3 separate regions of the Homo sapiens genome follow, and regions 1 and 2 are each linked to region 3. The links are contacts of gene promoters, found by promoter capture Hi-C in blood cells and fetal thymus (Javierre and others, 2016). All regions are on one chromosome and are shown on one strand. The core of a region is centred on a gene start or on the middle of the fragment in contact, and the rest is flanking DNA. Distances in the headings are between cores, read along the strand shown.

Region 1 (4,599 bases), core at 1,937-4,436, 470 kb before region 3:
GGTTGAGGCTACAGTAAGGTAAGTATGATCATGCCACTGCACTCCAGCCTGGGTGACAGTGAGACCCTGTCTTTAAAAAAAAAAAAAAAAAAAAAAAGGCCAGGCTTAGTGGCTCACATTTGTAATCCTAGCACTTTGGGAGGCCAAGGTAGGTAGATCACTTGGGCTCAGGAGTTCAAGCCAGCCTGGGCAGTATGGCGAAAACCCATCTCTACACGCACACACGCACGCATGCACACACACACACGCTGACACACACACGCTGGGTGTGGTGGTGTGTGCCTGTAGTTCCAGCTACTCTGGAGCCTGAGGTGGGAGACTGGCTTAAGCACGGGAGGTGAAGGTTGCAGTGAGCCAAGATGGTGCCACTGCACTCCAGCCTGAGTGACAGAGCCAGACCTTGTCTCCAAAAAACAAACAAACAAACAAAAGAACTGCCTCTGGTTGGTGAGGGCTTAGAATAAAATGAGGAACATGTATTTGGCAACTGGAGAAAAGGATATCCTTGTTCTATAGTGGCAGAAAGCCTAGCTGAGTTATGTCCTGCAGTTCTGTGGAAAGGAGAACTTACTGTAAGCAATGAACTTGGATGTTTAGCTGAGGAGGTTTTCATGGAAAGTATTGGAGGTGTGGCCTGATTTCTGGCTGCTTATAGTAAAGTGATGAAAGAGATAAATTGAGGGAAGAACTGTTAAACAAAAAGGATACAGGACTTGATGATTTGGGAAATTCTTAACCTATCCAGATTGTAGAAGACACTAGTTAGGATATTCATTGTCAGGAAGGTGGAAAGTGTGTTCTGGAGAGAAAGCCGTGAGTGTGACAGGATAACCTTTTGCTAGTGCTGAAGGGATTAGGCACGTGACTCATGGATCTCCTCAGTTGTCTCAGCAAAAAGCTAGGAATGTAGATCTGGGGAACATTTGTGGAGGACCCTCTTGTCTAATGGTATGAACCCTCATGACGTACACAGGCGACTCAAGGGTTTTGAGAATTAAAACTTTATAGTGCAGCTTGGATTGACAGGACAAAATGAAGGAAGGCTGTATGAACTCTCCAAATTTCACAGGCAGGAAACAGGCTAATAAAACTGCTCAGCTGCCAACATGTGCTACCTTTAAAGAAAGTGGAAGAATGACTCTGAGGGCAAAGCTTTGGGTCCAGAGGGTGGAGCTGCAGGCCACAGTTATTCTTAGGCCTTGAAACCTAATGGAGTTTGCCATGCTGAATTTTGAAATTGCTTGGTGGCAGTGGCTCCTTTCTTCCTTCCATTTCCTTTTCTGGAATGAGAGATTCTATAACTGTTGTCCTATGCCTGTCCTACCATTGTCTTTTGGAAGTGATACTGTGTTTTCTAATTTCACAGGTTCATAGATGGAGAGGAATTTTGCCCTAGGATGTATCATACCCACAGTCTTACCTATGATGAGAGGTGTGACTTTTGAACTGACTATATCTAGATGAGATTTTGGGCTTGAGTTGATATGGTAATGGTTGAGACTTTTAGGAATGTTTGGATAGAATGAATGTATTTTGCATGTGGGATGGACATGAATCTTTGAGGGCCTTAAGAAAATTATATTTTAGGCTTGTTCTGTTTCCGAGCATTCCTCATTTAAGGGCATTGAAACTTCACCATTGATTTTTTTAAAGATTAAATCCCATTTTGTCACTAAATCATATTTATAAAATTGAAAGTTAATTCTTATAGCAAAATCTCTTTTCTTTGCACTTATTAATCCAGCAAGTTTTAGTAAATTATATCTGATATACTGTTGGTAATACTGTGCTAGACACAAGTATGGAAAATGAAATATATTACTTCATACTGTATGTCATAACTTTCCTCTGCAGAAGTAGCAGTTCCTAAAGAATTAACAATTAAACCAACTTTTTCAGGGCTTTAAACTGATTTTAACTGTTGACTTTACCTCTTTTGCCACCCCTATGCCCCATCTATATTTTTGGTTAAAACCTCCTCTCATTACTGGAACTGACTTACTTGGCCCTTTTTTATTATTTAAATTTTGAGGGATTTGTTATATTTAAAGGTTTTGCCCAAAGTCATACAACTAGTAAATAATCAGTATTGTACTAGGAGATGATTATTTAGTGTTATTATGCATAATATATAATAATATCCTGATTAAAAGATGTTAGGAATATTTATGACCTGTTCTAAGAGGATCCAGGCTCTTGGGCTTACTGCTTTTTCTCTCTCTCTCCCGTTATTTTTTTTTTTAATTTTAAGTTCTGGGATACATGTGCAGAACTTGCACGTTTGTTACATAGGTATCTTTCCCCTTTTGACCATGTGTTTTTCCCCCTCATTAAAAAAAATATTTTTTTAATTTTTAATTTTTTGTAGAGACGGGGTCTTGCTATAGTGCCCAGACTGGCCTCAAACTCCTGGCCTCAAGCAATCTTCCCACCTTGGCCTTCCAAAATGCTGGGATTACAGGCACAAGCCACCGTACCCAGCCTTCTCCTGTGTTTTATGCCATGTGCTCCCAGTTTACTGCTATCATTGTAAGGAGCTTCACACTAGCAAACCCCTTATGGTTAAAAATACCATATTGGTAAGCTTGATGGAATCTGATTACTTCATACTGTATGTCATAACTTTCTTTTGCAGAAGTAGCAGTTCCTAAAACATTAACAATGCCACCAACTTTTTCAGGACTTTAAACTGACATTAACTTCTGACTTTACCTCTTTTGCCAACCCTATGCCCCATCTATAAAACTAATTGTGCGTAGCATGAAAAAGATCTGAAATAGTTTCATATAATATGAATTGTGCATAGCATGAAAAAGATCTGAAGTAGTTTCATATTCATTATTCAACTTTAGTATTAGAAATATTTTGAGTTCTATTTGGTTTTTTTGTGTGTTTTTCCCCACTTCCCAGCCATGTTTGAGATGACTGAGCTTGCCAGATAAATAATATGTAACTACATTTAATATTTGTTTTATTTTATATAGTTTGTTTCCCAGGATAACTTTTGAAATTGTGCAGATACAAAAGTGATTCTGAGTAATACTGTAGTGGTTTGATGTTTGAAAAGATGTAATCTTAGATAAACTAGCATTTAACACATTTATTAAAATAGAGTTTTTTCATAATCAAATATGTAGATTGCTAAATTCTCCAGACCCAAGCCCAGCTAGATATTCTTATTAAAAATGCAGGTGATGTTTTTCCTTGTGTGTAAACCCACTGTTGGAGGGTTTTTGTTTTTTACAGTTGCAGCTGATAGCACTGAATTGATTTCTTCCAAAGGAACTATTGATTTAGTTATAGATAAATCTTTTAAATATTTCATGCAGTGAAAATAGCTGTGTATTTGCATTGACATCTAATTGTTCCATTCTTGAAAATTAGGTTTTTCCATTTAGAAATACTGTGTTAGGAATAAGGAATCAATCTTTTATAATGTCTCTTTGTAGAGTTACTTATTTGCTTTGTGGTCAAAGATCATTTATATTGCGTATTCAAACAAAGACTTTTTTCCCCTTATTAAAAACGATTGGGTAGGGGATATGTGGGTCATGGGCTTGCTTCTTCTATCTCAGTTTGCAGTGAGTGTTCATTCCATAGTGCCTTCTGTGTTGTTGATGCCAGCGATACAGTGGCAGACAAAGTCATGGAGCTTACATTCTAGCCAAGAGGAACAGTCAGTAAACAAAATAGTAAATACACAAATTAAATTCAGGCAGTATTATGAAGATACATTTTGCTCATTTCTGAATGATAAAGGAGGAACCAGCCATGTTATAATCTGAGGGTAAAGCTTACTAAGATACAAAGGCTCTAAAAATACAGCATTTTTGGCATTTTTGTAGTCCAGAAAGATTACCAGGGTTAAATCATTGTGGTGATGGAGAGAGGGGTAGGAGATGGTTGAAGGGGATGCAAAGCTAGATCATCATATAGGATCTTGTGTTCTGTGATAGGTGTTTGCAAGAAATAAGAGTAGTTGGCATTCTTTAGAGGCATTCTTAAGTAGGTGGAGGTCATAAACAATGTGATTTATATTTTTAAAATATGATTCTGGCTGCTGTGCAGAGAACACACTGTATAGGGCAAAAGTGAAAGAAGAGACCGGAACATTGCAGTGTTAGAGGTGACACTGGACTTAGTTGTCAGAGTAAGGAACATTTTGGAGGTCTGCTGTTGAATTAGATGTGACAGATGAAGAAAAAAAACGAGAACCCCATTGCCCAAGTTCAATTATGGTACTGTTAACTGGGAAAACTATAGAAGAAATAGGTTTAAGTGGAAACAATAAAAAAATTTTATTTTGGATGTTAGGTTTGAGTCTAATATATTAGGGCTTTGCAGATCATACTGCATAGATGGTCAGCAGCCATAACATCTGCTTAGAAGTTATTTCTTATTAGGATTATGTCATTACATTAATTTTTAATCATCCATTCTTTTACTTTTCCAAGCTGAATGCTCTAGTTGCACCTAAAATTCTTCAGTCACAATTAAGATGCCTATAAAATCTCTACTAGCCACCATCTTTAAAGGAAACATAATTCTGAATTTTACAATACAATAAACTTGATTATTCAGACACTGATGATTTTTTCA
Region 2 (4,854 bases), core at 2,022-4,521, 260 kb before region 3:
AAAATGTCTCCAGGCTGAGACCTTCACGGCAGTCCCTCCCATCACAGGTCTGGAGGCCCAGGAGGTAAAAAAAAAATGGTTTCATAGGCCGGGCCCAGGGTCCCTGTGCTGTGTGCAGCCTATAGACTTGGTGCCCTGTGTCCCAGCTGCTCCAGCCATGGCTGAAAGGGGCCAATGTAGAGCTCATGCTGTGGCTTCAGAGGGTGGAAGCCCCAAGCCTTGGCAGCTTCCATGTGGTGTTGAGTCTGTGGGTACACAGAAGTCAAGAATTGAGGTTTGGGAACCTCCACCTAGATTTCAGAAGATGTATGGAAATGCCTGGCTGTCCAGGCAAAAGTTTGCTGCAGGGGTGAGGCCCTCATGGAGAACCTCTGCTAGGGCAGTGTGGAAGGGAAATGTGGGGTTGGAACCTCCACACAGAGTCCCTACTGGGGCACTGCCTATTGGAGCTGAAGAGGTCCACCATCCTCCAGAACCCAGAATGGTAGATCCACAGACAGCTTGCACCGTGCACCTGAAAAAGCTGCAGACACTCAATGCTAGCCCGTGAAAGCAGTTGGGAGAGAGGCTGTATCCTGCAATGCCACAGGGACAGAGGTGCCCAAGACCATGGGAACCCACCTCTTGCATCAGCGTGACCTGGATGTGAGACCTGGAGTCAAAGGAGATCATTTTGGAGCTTTAAAATTTGACTACCCCACTGGATTTCAGACTTGCATAGGCCCTGTAACACCTTTGTTTTGGCCAATTTCTATTTTGGAATGGCTGTATTTACCCAATACCTGTACCCCCATTGTATCTAGGAAGTAACTAGCTTGCTTTTGATTTTACAGGCTCATAGGCGCAAGGGACTTGCCTTGTCTCAGATGAGACTTTGGACTGTGGACTTTTGGGTTAATGCTGAAATGAATTAAGACTTTGGGAGACTGTTGGGAAGACATGATTGGTTTTAAAATGTGAGGATATGAGATTTAGAGGGGCCAGGGGTGGAATGATATGGTTTGGCTGTGTCCCCACCCAAATCTCAACTTGAATTGTATCTCCCAGAATTCCCATATGTTGTGGGAGGGACCCAGGGGGAGGTAATTGAATCATGGGGGCCAGTCTTCCCCATGCTATTCTCATGATAGTGAATAAGTCTCATGAAATCTGCTGGGTATATCAGGGATTTCTGCTTTTGCTTCTTCCTCATTTTTGTCTTGCCGCTGCCATGCAAGAAGTGCGTTTCACCTCCCACCATGATTCTGAGGCCTCCTCAGTCATGTGGAACTGTAAGTCCTATTAAACCTCCTTTTCTTCCCAGTCTCGGGTATGTCTTTATCAGCAGCTTGAAAATGGACAAATACAGGAAGCAGTGTAGTAACTGGACATAAATATTTTACTTCATGTTATGACTTTATGGCTGTGATTATCTTTAGCAGTGTTGCATGGTTGTGGCTTAGAATAGTTACTCTTGCCAAATCCTTGAGAACCTTCAACTGTTTAGTCACTTATTTTTGGCTTCTCTGATACTTATTGACATTCTTTCTGAGGACTTGCCCAGCAGGTAAATTATAAGTTTGTGCCAGAGTGTGTTCTGTGGAATATTGCTTCTGCAAATAGGATTTCATGGTTGAATAATTTTGAAAATCACTGTATAGTGTATCTCACTCTTGGAGATTCACAATGCACATTTAGGACGTTACAGGCTTTGCAAAATCCTGTAGAAAAGAAACCAATTTAATTTGTTTAGTCCAGCATTTCCTAAACTTCCTTGCTGTAGTGGGTTGAATGGTGGTCCCCTCAGAACACCCATGTCAAATCCCTGGAACCTGTGGCTGTTACCTTATTTGGTAAAAGATTCTTTGCATATGTAATTAAGTTAAGGATCTTGAGATCATCCTGTATTATTCAAGTGGGCTTTAAGTCCAGTGATAAGTGTTCATATAAGAGAAAGGCAGGGGTAGATTTGAGACAGAAGAGGAGAAGACAGACACAGAAGAGAGAGACAGTAAGGCAGAGGCTGAGGTTGGAATGGTGTGGCCACAAGCCAAGGAAGCCATAAAATATTAGCCACCAGAAGCTGGAAGGCCAGGCCCCTAGAAGGAAATGAGCCCTACTGATACCTTGATTTCAGACTTCTGGCCTCCAGAACTTTGAGGGAATACATTTCTGTTGTTTTAAACCATCCATTTTAAGGCAATTTGTTAGGCAGCCCTATACAATGGATACCCTTGCCCATAAAGATATTAAAAAAAAACAACAACAACTTTTCAAGGAAAAACTACTGTGTATGCTCAAATATGAGGCAAGGGTTTTTTTCTTCCAAATTATCTCTCAGAAAAGATGGAGTATCCTAATATTCAAGGGCTTCCGAGGTCTCATATTTCAGAGCATTTTCTGGATTACTTACTTTTAAATGACTAAGGTATTGTATGGAAAAAGCACAATACTGAAACCAATCAATACTAGTTTTAGTTGATGATAAAGGTTATCTGATGGAATTGGTTAAAAAAAAAGAGGGGGAAAAATACATTTAGCACAAAATTAGTAACTATTATTGGGAGTATGAGGCAGTTGCTGTGGACTACCTTACTCACCATGTATTCTAACTTTCTTCTATTGTCTTAGGCCAGGTGCTGTGGCTCATGCCTGTTATCCCAGCACTTTGTGAGGCCAAGGTGGGAGGATTGCTTGAGGCCAGGAGTTTGAGACCATCCTGGACAACATAGTGAGATCCAGTGTCTACTTTTTTATATACATAAAAAAGAATCTGTCTTCTTATACTGAAGAATCCGGAAAGCTAAAAACAATCTTTTCTAGACCTTCTTGCAGTAAGAATTTTGGATGTACTTTAGGTTCTGACATTCAGATGCACTTGCTTATATAAATCTTGGCTTTGGAAGGTGGCATTCATTTTTGTTTGTGATTGGTAGCAGATATGATATGCAGCAGCAGCAAGCTTGGCCGGCAGCTTCTTGATTGTAGCAGAGGTGGCATCATTTCACACGGGGCCGCCATAGCAGCAGAGCCAGATTTGGCTTGGGGCTTTTTGTTCTCTGGCCAATTATCTGATGTGACTTTGGAATTATTACTAGAAGCTCAGTCTAGAGTCTGTTTCTTGCCAAACTCTCCCCTACTACCTCCAGTTCGGTGATTCTGGAAGTTATATGACACCCTGTTACAAATCTCTTGCTCAAACTAGCCAGGAGCTAGACCCTTATTCTCTGTAGCTAGACCCTTACTGATTGATGCAGGGCCTGACCTCCCCATGTGACTATTGACTGGGTGCTGGTGTAAATCAGCAATGACAAAAAAGCAATACAGTTAGTGAATATGTTGAAGAGATCACAAATCTATACCTATAGGATACATTTTTTAAAACTCTGAATTTATCAAATTATGGCTTAGTATTAAATGTCCGGTGGTAGCTCACACATGGGTTCAAAAAATATTGTTTGTAAATAAAAATGACTGTGTTAGATGCCCTAAGATACGTCTCTTCTTCTGACTAAGATATTGAAAAACTCAGGTAAGAGTTTAAATAAAATTGCTTCATAACATGTCAGAGTAGAAAAAAAGCATTATTTCAAAATCAATGTGTTATTTCACATGTGTGATTTAAGCTTTTATGTGTAACCAAATGAATAAATCCAATCCTATACACTGACATTTAACTCATATATATCCTAAACATTTATGTTTTCAAGTTGGCTAAAAGAATTCCTAAAACCGCAACTTTTTTTTTTGAGGAACTTTTCTCTTGCAACACGTGGGCTCACCATATGTTCAGGGTGCCCTGATGTTCAAGTTATATGGTATTAATATGGCCTGAAACTGAAGTGCAGAGGGCATCCATTGAAAAATGCTGGTCTACTGGATCAAGGTTCACCATAATATATGGTTATTTGGTGTTCAATAAACTTTTTTTTTTTTTTAAGACAGATTCTTACTTTGTCACCCAGGCTGGAGTGCAGTGGTGCCATCTTGACTCACTGCAACCTCCGCCTCCCGGGTTCAAATGATTCCTGTGCCTCAGCCTCGCGAGTAGCTGGAATTACAGGCGCGCACCACCACACCCGGCTAATTTTTGTATTTTTAGTAGAGACAGGGTTTCACTATGTTGGCCAGGCTGCTCTCGAACGCCTGATTTCAGGTGATCCACCGGCCTCAGCCTCCCAAAGTGCTGGGATTTTAGATGTGAGTCACCGCGCCCAGCCCAATAAACTTGTTAAGTGACAAATAAAATTGGCGAGTGAGTGTTGCTGTTGTGACTTTGCTGCTTTTTTCTTTCCTGTTCTTAACTGCTGCAGGGTTTCTTTCTGTCTTGGTGCCTATTCCTAAGACAGATGAGGAAGATAGGATCTCTGCTTCATGGAGCTTGTAGGTTCTGCTAAAGGGAATGACATGCAGATTCAATTCACAGGGAACGTGGTAAGAGCTGAGAGACTGTTACAATGGCCGCGAAAGCCAGCGAGCCAGGGGACATTTCCACTTAGCCAGAGGCCAACGTCACAAAGCAGGTGGCATTTTGGTCGAGCCTGCTTATAAGCCTAGTGTCTATAGATTTTATTAAATCATTAGAGTCATTCTTCAGGTAGAAACGGACCTTCCTTGACTTCATAAATTACAAGATGTCTGGAATTCTGAATTTTATCCCTCCAAGTCCCTCCACCGGAACTTTCCAGCACTTCGATTTTCTTCTACAGCGTGAGGGAAGGGTCAGGTTTAGACATTGTCTTGGCAAACAGATCAGCCCTCTCCATTTAGGAAGGAGGAGGGAAGCTGCTCCCGCGGCCACATTTCCTGGAAGGCTGCAGGTGAGGGCTCGGGCGGTGGCGGGCCGTGGTCCGGCGCAGTTTCCCCGCGGCCCGC
Region 3 (4,725 bases), core at 1,775-4,274:
CTTTGGCCCCAGAGATTGATGTGTCCTCAGTGGATCCAGAATGACCTCTAAACCTCCTTTTTGTAAGACACTTTTGTAAAACACCCAACTCTGTTTTACAATGGAAATAACAACTGAGTCACAAAACTTGATTCTTTTTTTTTTTTGAGTCAGAGTCTTGCTCTGTCACCTAGTCTGGAGTGCAGTGGTGCAATCTTGGCTTACTGCAACCTCTGTCTCCCCATTTCAAGTGAGTCTTGAGCCTTGGCCTCCCGAGTAGCTGGGATTAGAGGTGCCCATCATTAGACCCAGCTAATTTTTGTATTTTTAGTAGAGACGGGGTGGTGGGGTTGGGTGGGGGGGAGTCTCACCATTTTGGCCAGGCTGGTCTCGAACCCTTGACCTCAGGTGATCCTCCCACCTCGCCTCCCAAAGTGCCAGGATTATAGGCGTGAGCCACTGTGCCTGGCCAAAACTTGATGGTTATAGTCAGAAGGAGCTGACAATCTTCAAATAAATTATGTCAAGAGTGAGGGTTTGACTCAACTTCAAGTATCTTCGGCATCTATGTTGAGAGTGAGAGTTTGACTCAACTTCAAGTAGGTAGGAGACAGGTGGCAGGTAGGAGCACTGAGCTAATAAGTTTTCCATTTGCGATGGGCACTTGACATATTCCAGAACAAGACTCCCAGCCTTGTTTTTCTTTATCTGAACCTCTTCCCACACAAGCATAATTTGCTTCAGTAGTGCTATACATGTAGTTGTGATATTTAAATTTAATATTATTTAGAATTTCAATTTGAGCACAATCTGTGTTTGGGATAAAGTAAATAACTCTGGCCATTCATACATCATCCACTAAACACATCTTGGGAAGACAGGAATCAATGGTCCACAGAATTACTCTTAGAAGCAAGGGGTGATATTCAGAATAGTTAACAGCTGGTGTGACATGGGGATATCCAAGCAGAGGGAGCCCTTGCTGCATCAGGGCTTAAGGGCTTAAACTTTCATTTGCCAGGTTGTGAGGAAGTTGCTTAGTCCTAGGAAAATGGGCAGGGCAGGGATGGTTGCCTGTGAGGAACTAAGGGCAGCAGCTTTTATCAACCAATTCAGAATATTTCAGTAACCATTACAGCCAAATCACCAGCTCCTGGCTGAGTACACTCTGCAGTGAGGTTCATTATACTATGCCTATAATAGTCTGGACCCCATCTCTCTGGAATAGTACATATTTTACACGAAGGGAAAAGGCTAACTTGCAACTTATTTGCATGAAAAATCACGTTGCAAGTACTTCTTAGTTTACTAGATTGTCTCCAATAGTTTCTCAACCTTATCAAGATATATTTGTTAAAACTGTGTGCTCTCCAAAATCATCTACTGAATTTAAACCACTGCACCCCACTTTGGACTATAATTGACTGGAGTTACTGATTGGAAAGGAAGTGGTACACACCCCTAATATACTGACGGACTTACTCTGACAGCTGCTACCACCTGTGGGGACCCTTGATGATGTTCACGCAGCTTTTCTGAGTGGCACATGCTGTTCTCTTGAATACTCCTTGAGGTGAAGAAGAGGCCACCCCTACCCCTATGCACACACAGCTCCTGCTCTTTCCTGGGGCTGCACCCTGCTTGTATTTCCAATGCAGGGATGTCAGATTCCAAAGAGGGCTCCCCAAGGCATTCCAGAAGGCTTCAGGCCAGCACGTCCCAACCTTTTCATGCCATGGGACCCCTTTGGCAGGCTGCTGAAAACCATGGGGTTCTTCTCAGAATAAGGGTTTTAAATACATAAAAGAAACCACAAGAGGTTACAAAAAAAGCCAATAATATTGAAATGTAGCTAACAAAATGTTTTTAAAAATTTGTGCTAGAGCAATATATATGCTTCATTATTGACATATAATATCTGGCTGATTGTCTAATAACTACTGTTATTTGAGATACTTGCAACAACTGTGATGTGATGTAAAAACCTATGGTTTCTAGTGATTACTAAGTCATAAATACTTATCCTACTGCTACTGTAGTTTGTTGTCTACGTTCATAATGGCAAAACGTGCTAAATGTCAGAGGTTGGTGAAAATTAAGACGTAAATTTTTTCTCATCCAAGTTCACAGTACTCTTGAATTAATTACCTCTCCTCGGGTTAAGAACCCCTGCAGGATAAGGTTGCCCCTAGGGCCAACACCTCACTGGAGCCCCGCCTCATGTCCTGGAGGCAGGAGCCTTCATGCCACCTACACAGAACTCGGAGCTGTCTCTTGGCCCAGCAGTTCTCCCCACAACTAGTTCTGAAAGTCCGGGGCTAGGAAAGAACGGCATCGTCGCCTGAGCTCCTGGCGCCACTTTAAACAACCCATCCTTGACTTGCGTGACTTCTTCCACAAGCTCTCCTGGTCACCTGGGCAAAATCCTAGGTGATCTGGGGACAAGGCGGAACTTCGGTTTTCTGATCTGCAAAAAGAAACACCTACCTCATAGGACTGTTAGGATGAATTGAGGTAATGGCTGGGTTGTGTACATTATACAGCACTATCAAGGTGTGCGCTGTGATCATTTTTGAGGGTTGTTAGGTGTTTGAGGACCCAGAACAGTCTACACAGCTGTAGTCCCCAAGTGTTGGGCACGCCTTAAGCGCTCCATAAACACCTGTAGAAATGAATGAATGACGTATGCATCTGCACGTGGGCCCACATCTGCAAGAACAGGCTGCTCAGGCCATGAGGCCCGGTGCATCACCTGCACTTCTCTTTATAACGGGTAGTAAAGTCTCCCTCGCTCTGTGCTACTCGGCAACCACAATTCTGTCCACAGAGGGCGGCGCAGTGGGGCTGCTTCGCCGCGAGCTCGCCTCCGGGGCTCCCACGTCGTGGCTTCCGGGCAGGTACCGGGCAGCTGGAGACGCCAGAGCCGGCGGGTAAGGTGCGGGCGGTGCGCCGGGCCGCGGGCGCGCAAGGAGGGGCGAGAGGGTGGGGAGGGGCGGGGCCGGCGTCCTCGTCACTTGATAAAACGCCTGCGAGTCTCCAGAGAACAACGGGCTCATTCAGCGGTCGCGAGCTGCCCGCGAGGGGGAGCGGCCGGACGGAGAGCGCGACCCGTCCCGGGGGTGGGGCCGGGCGCAGCGGCGAGAGGAGGCGAAGGTGGCTGCGGTAGCAGCAGCGCGGCAGCCTCGGACCCAGCCCGGAGCGCAGGGCGGCCGCTGCAGGTCCCCGCTCCCCTCCCCGTGCGTCCGCCCATGGCCGCCGCCGGGCAGCTGTGCTTGCTCTACCTGTCGGCGGGGCTCCTGTCCCGGCTCGGCGCAGCCTTCAACTTGGACACTCGGGAGGACAACGTGATCCGGAAATATGGAGACCCCGGGAGCCTCTTCGGCTTCTCGCTGGCCATGCACTGGCAACTGCAGCCCGAGGACAAGCGGCTGTGAGTTCCCAGACCCTTCCCACCCCCACTGGGGCGCCGGCCTGCGCGCGAGTTGAGGCGAGGGCGCGCCCTGTTCCCGCCGGCCCCGGGGAGTAGTTGGCCCGTGGGTCGCGCCCGGGCCGGCCGAGGCGCACCCAGCGCCCAGCGCGCTCGGCTCCCCGCCCTGACCCGCCCCGCGCGGCGCCTCCCTCCATTCAGCTCGGGAAGGAGGAGAACCCGAGGGCTAGGCTGGGCCCCGGGAGAGTTTACTTTTTTTTCTGTTTTAAACAAAGTGCTTTCCGCCGGTTCTTCCCTCCGGGCGTGTTTGCTGGGACCCCGGCAGGTGGCACGCTTTGCTGAGCTTCACGTGTGTGTTTGGGGCTGGGGTGGCGTTCAGGGTCACCGCAGCGCTGCTGTGGGTTTGCAGGGAGCGTAGTTCCAGGATGGTCTAGGCCTTTCCCAAACTCACGGTGCACCCCGTCTCCCCCGCAGACTGGCGCGCCCCGCACAAGTTGGAAAGCCACTTTCCATGTGTCCTGCATGACTTTCTCAGCAAGGCGGGGGCGCTCCTTAGGAGATACTTTTACATGCCTTTGAAAAAAAAAAAAAAAAAGATGGGGGTGGGGGCGGGAATTAACCAAACACCTGTTCGCTGGACTAGATCAGCTGAGAAAACAAGTCTGAGTGATGTGCCCAGCCCCCAAAGTACTCGGCCGCACCCGAGACCCGCTCGGCTCCTGCGTTGGGCGGGCACAGCCAAGGGGTTAAAGCAAAATGTCCGATCTGAGCCTGGACTTTGCAAACAAGGTTTGTAAGGGACAACCCCCCACCGTAGCGGTAAACCTCCCAGGAGAAAGAGGAGACCGGCACTACTGGCCTCTCCTTTTATTTCTTAAACAGTGTTTGGTTCCCACATGATCGGCTATTTAAGCCGGAGAGGGTATTTTGGCGCTTAGTCGCCTTAATCGCTATGGGGTTGCATTCTTCATCTGTGCTACTGAAAAATAGGCTGTAGCAACAAAAGGTCTCCCCTCCCCACCCAGGCCTTGAGTTGAACTAAGGACCTTCCAGGACCAACAGACCGGAGAAAGCAAAGTGCAGCCACAGTGAAGAGATTTTGTGTTTAGGAGAGGCGAATGGGATTTTAGAACTGGAGGAAACCTCTTGATTTCAGCGGTTAACAACTTTGGAATTCGTGAATGTTGCAGCCCCTGAATTTTAGTCAGTTTTTTTTTTTTTCTGATAACACCTGCTAGGTGAAGCACAGAAATTAGCTGGGGGTGGGGAGGCTCTAGGAGGGTGGTCTGAGGCTATATGCCTGGCCAGCTGCTTATACT

What was found. Contacts are between HindIII fragments. The CHiCAGO score rates a contact against its expected background, and 5 or more counts as called.
Region 1: a contact is called between a fragment that was not itself captured here and the fragment with the promoter of ITGA6 in region 3, in 2 of 17 cell types (naive CD4 T cells and non-activated CD4 T cells). The highest score is 5.4, in naive CD4 T cells.
Region 2: a contact is called between a fragment that was not itself captured here and the fragment with the promoter of ITGA6 in region 3, in 14 of 17 cell types (megakaryocytes, M1 macrophages, M0 macrophages and 11 more). The highest score is 19.9, in megakaryocytes.

What each region holds. Positions count from the first base shown.
Region 1 is chr2:171,956,105-171,960,703 of GRCh38, forward strand. The region is part of intron 4 of HAT1 (histone acetyltransferase 1); the gene reads left to right. Among named protein-coding and RNA genes, the nearest start is that of HAT1, 36 kb to the left of the region's middle. The HindIII fragment of the contact is 1,209 bases long and covers 2,583-3,791 here.
Region 2 is chr2:172,167,772-172,172,625 of GRCh38, forward strand. No RefSeq gene overlaps it. Among named protein-coding and RNA genes, the nearest start is that of DLX2-DT, 67 kb to the left of the region's middle. The HindIII fragment of the contact is 664 bases long and covers 2,940-3,603 here.
Region 3 is chr2:172,424,562-172,429,286 of GRCh38, forward strand. It overlaps ITGA6 (integrin subunit alpha 6), which reads left to right and starts at 3,025. Exons shown (of 26, transcript NM_000210.4): 1 at 3,025-3,409. The coding sequence starts at 3,228. RefSeq lists a silencer at 2,973-3,052 and an enhancer at 3,837-4,337. The HindIII fragment of the contact is 11,901 bases long and covers 1-4,725 here.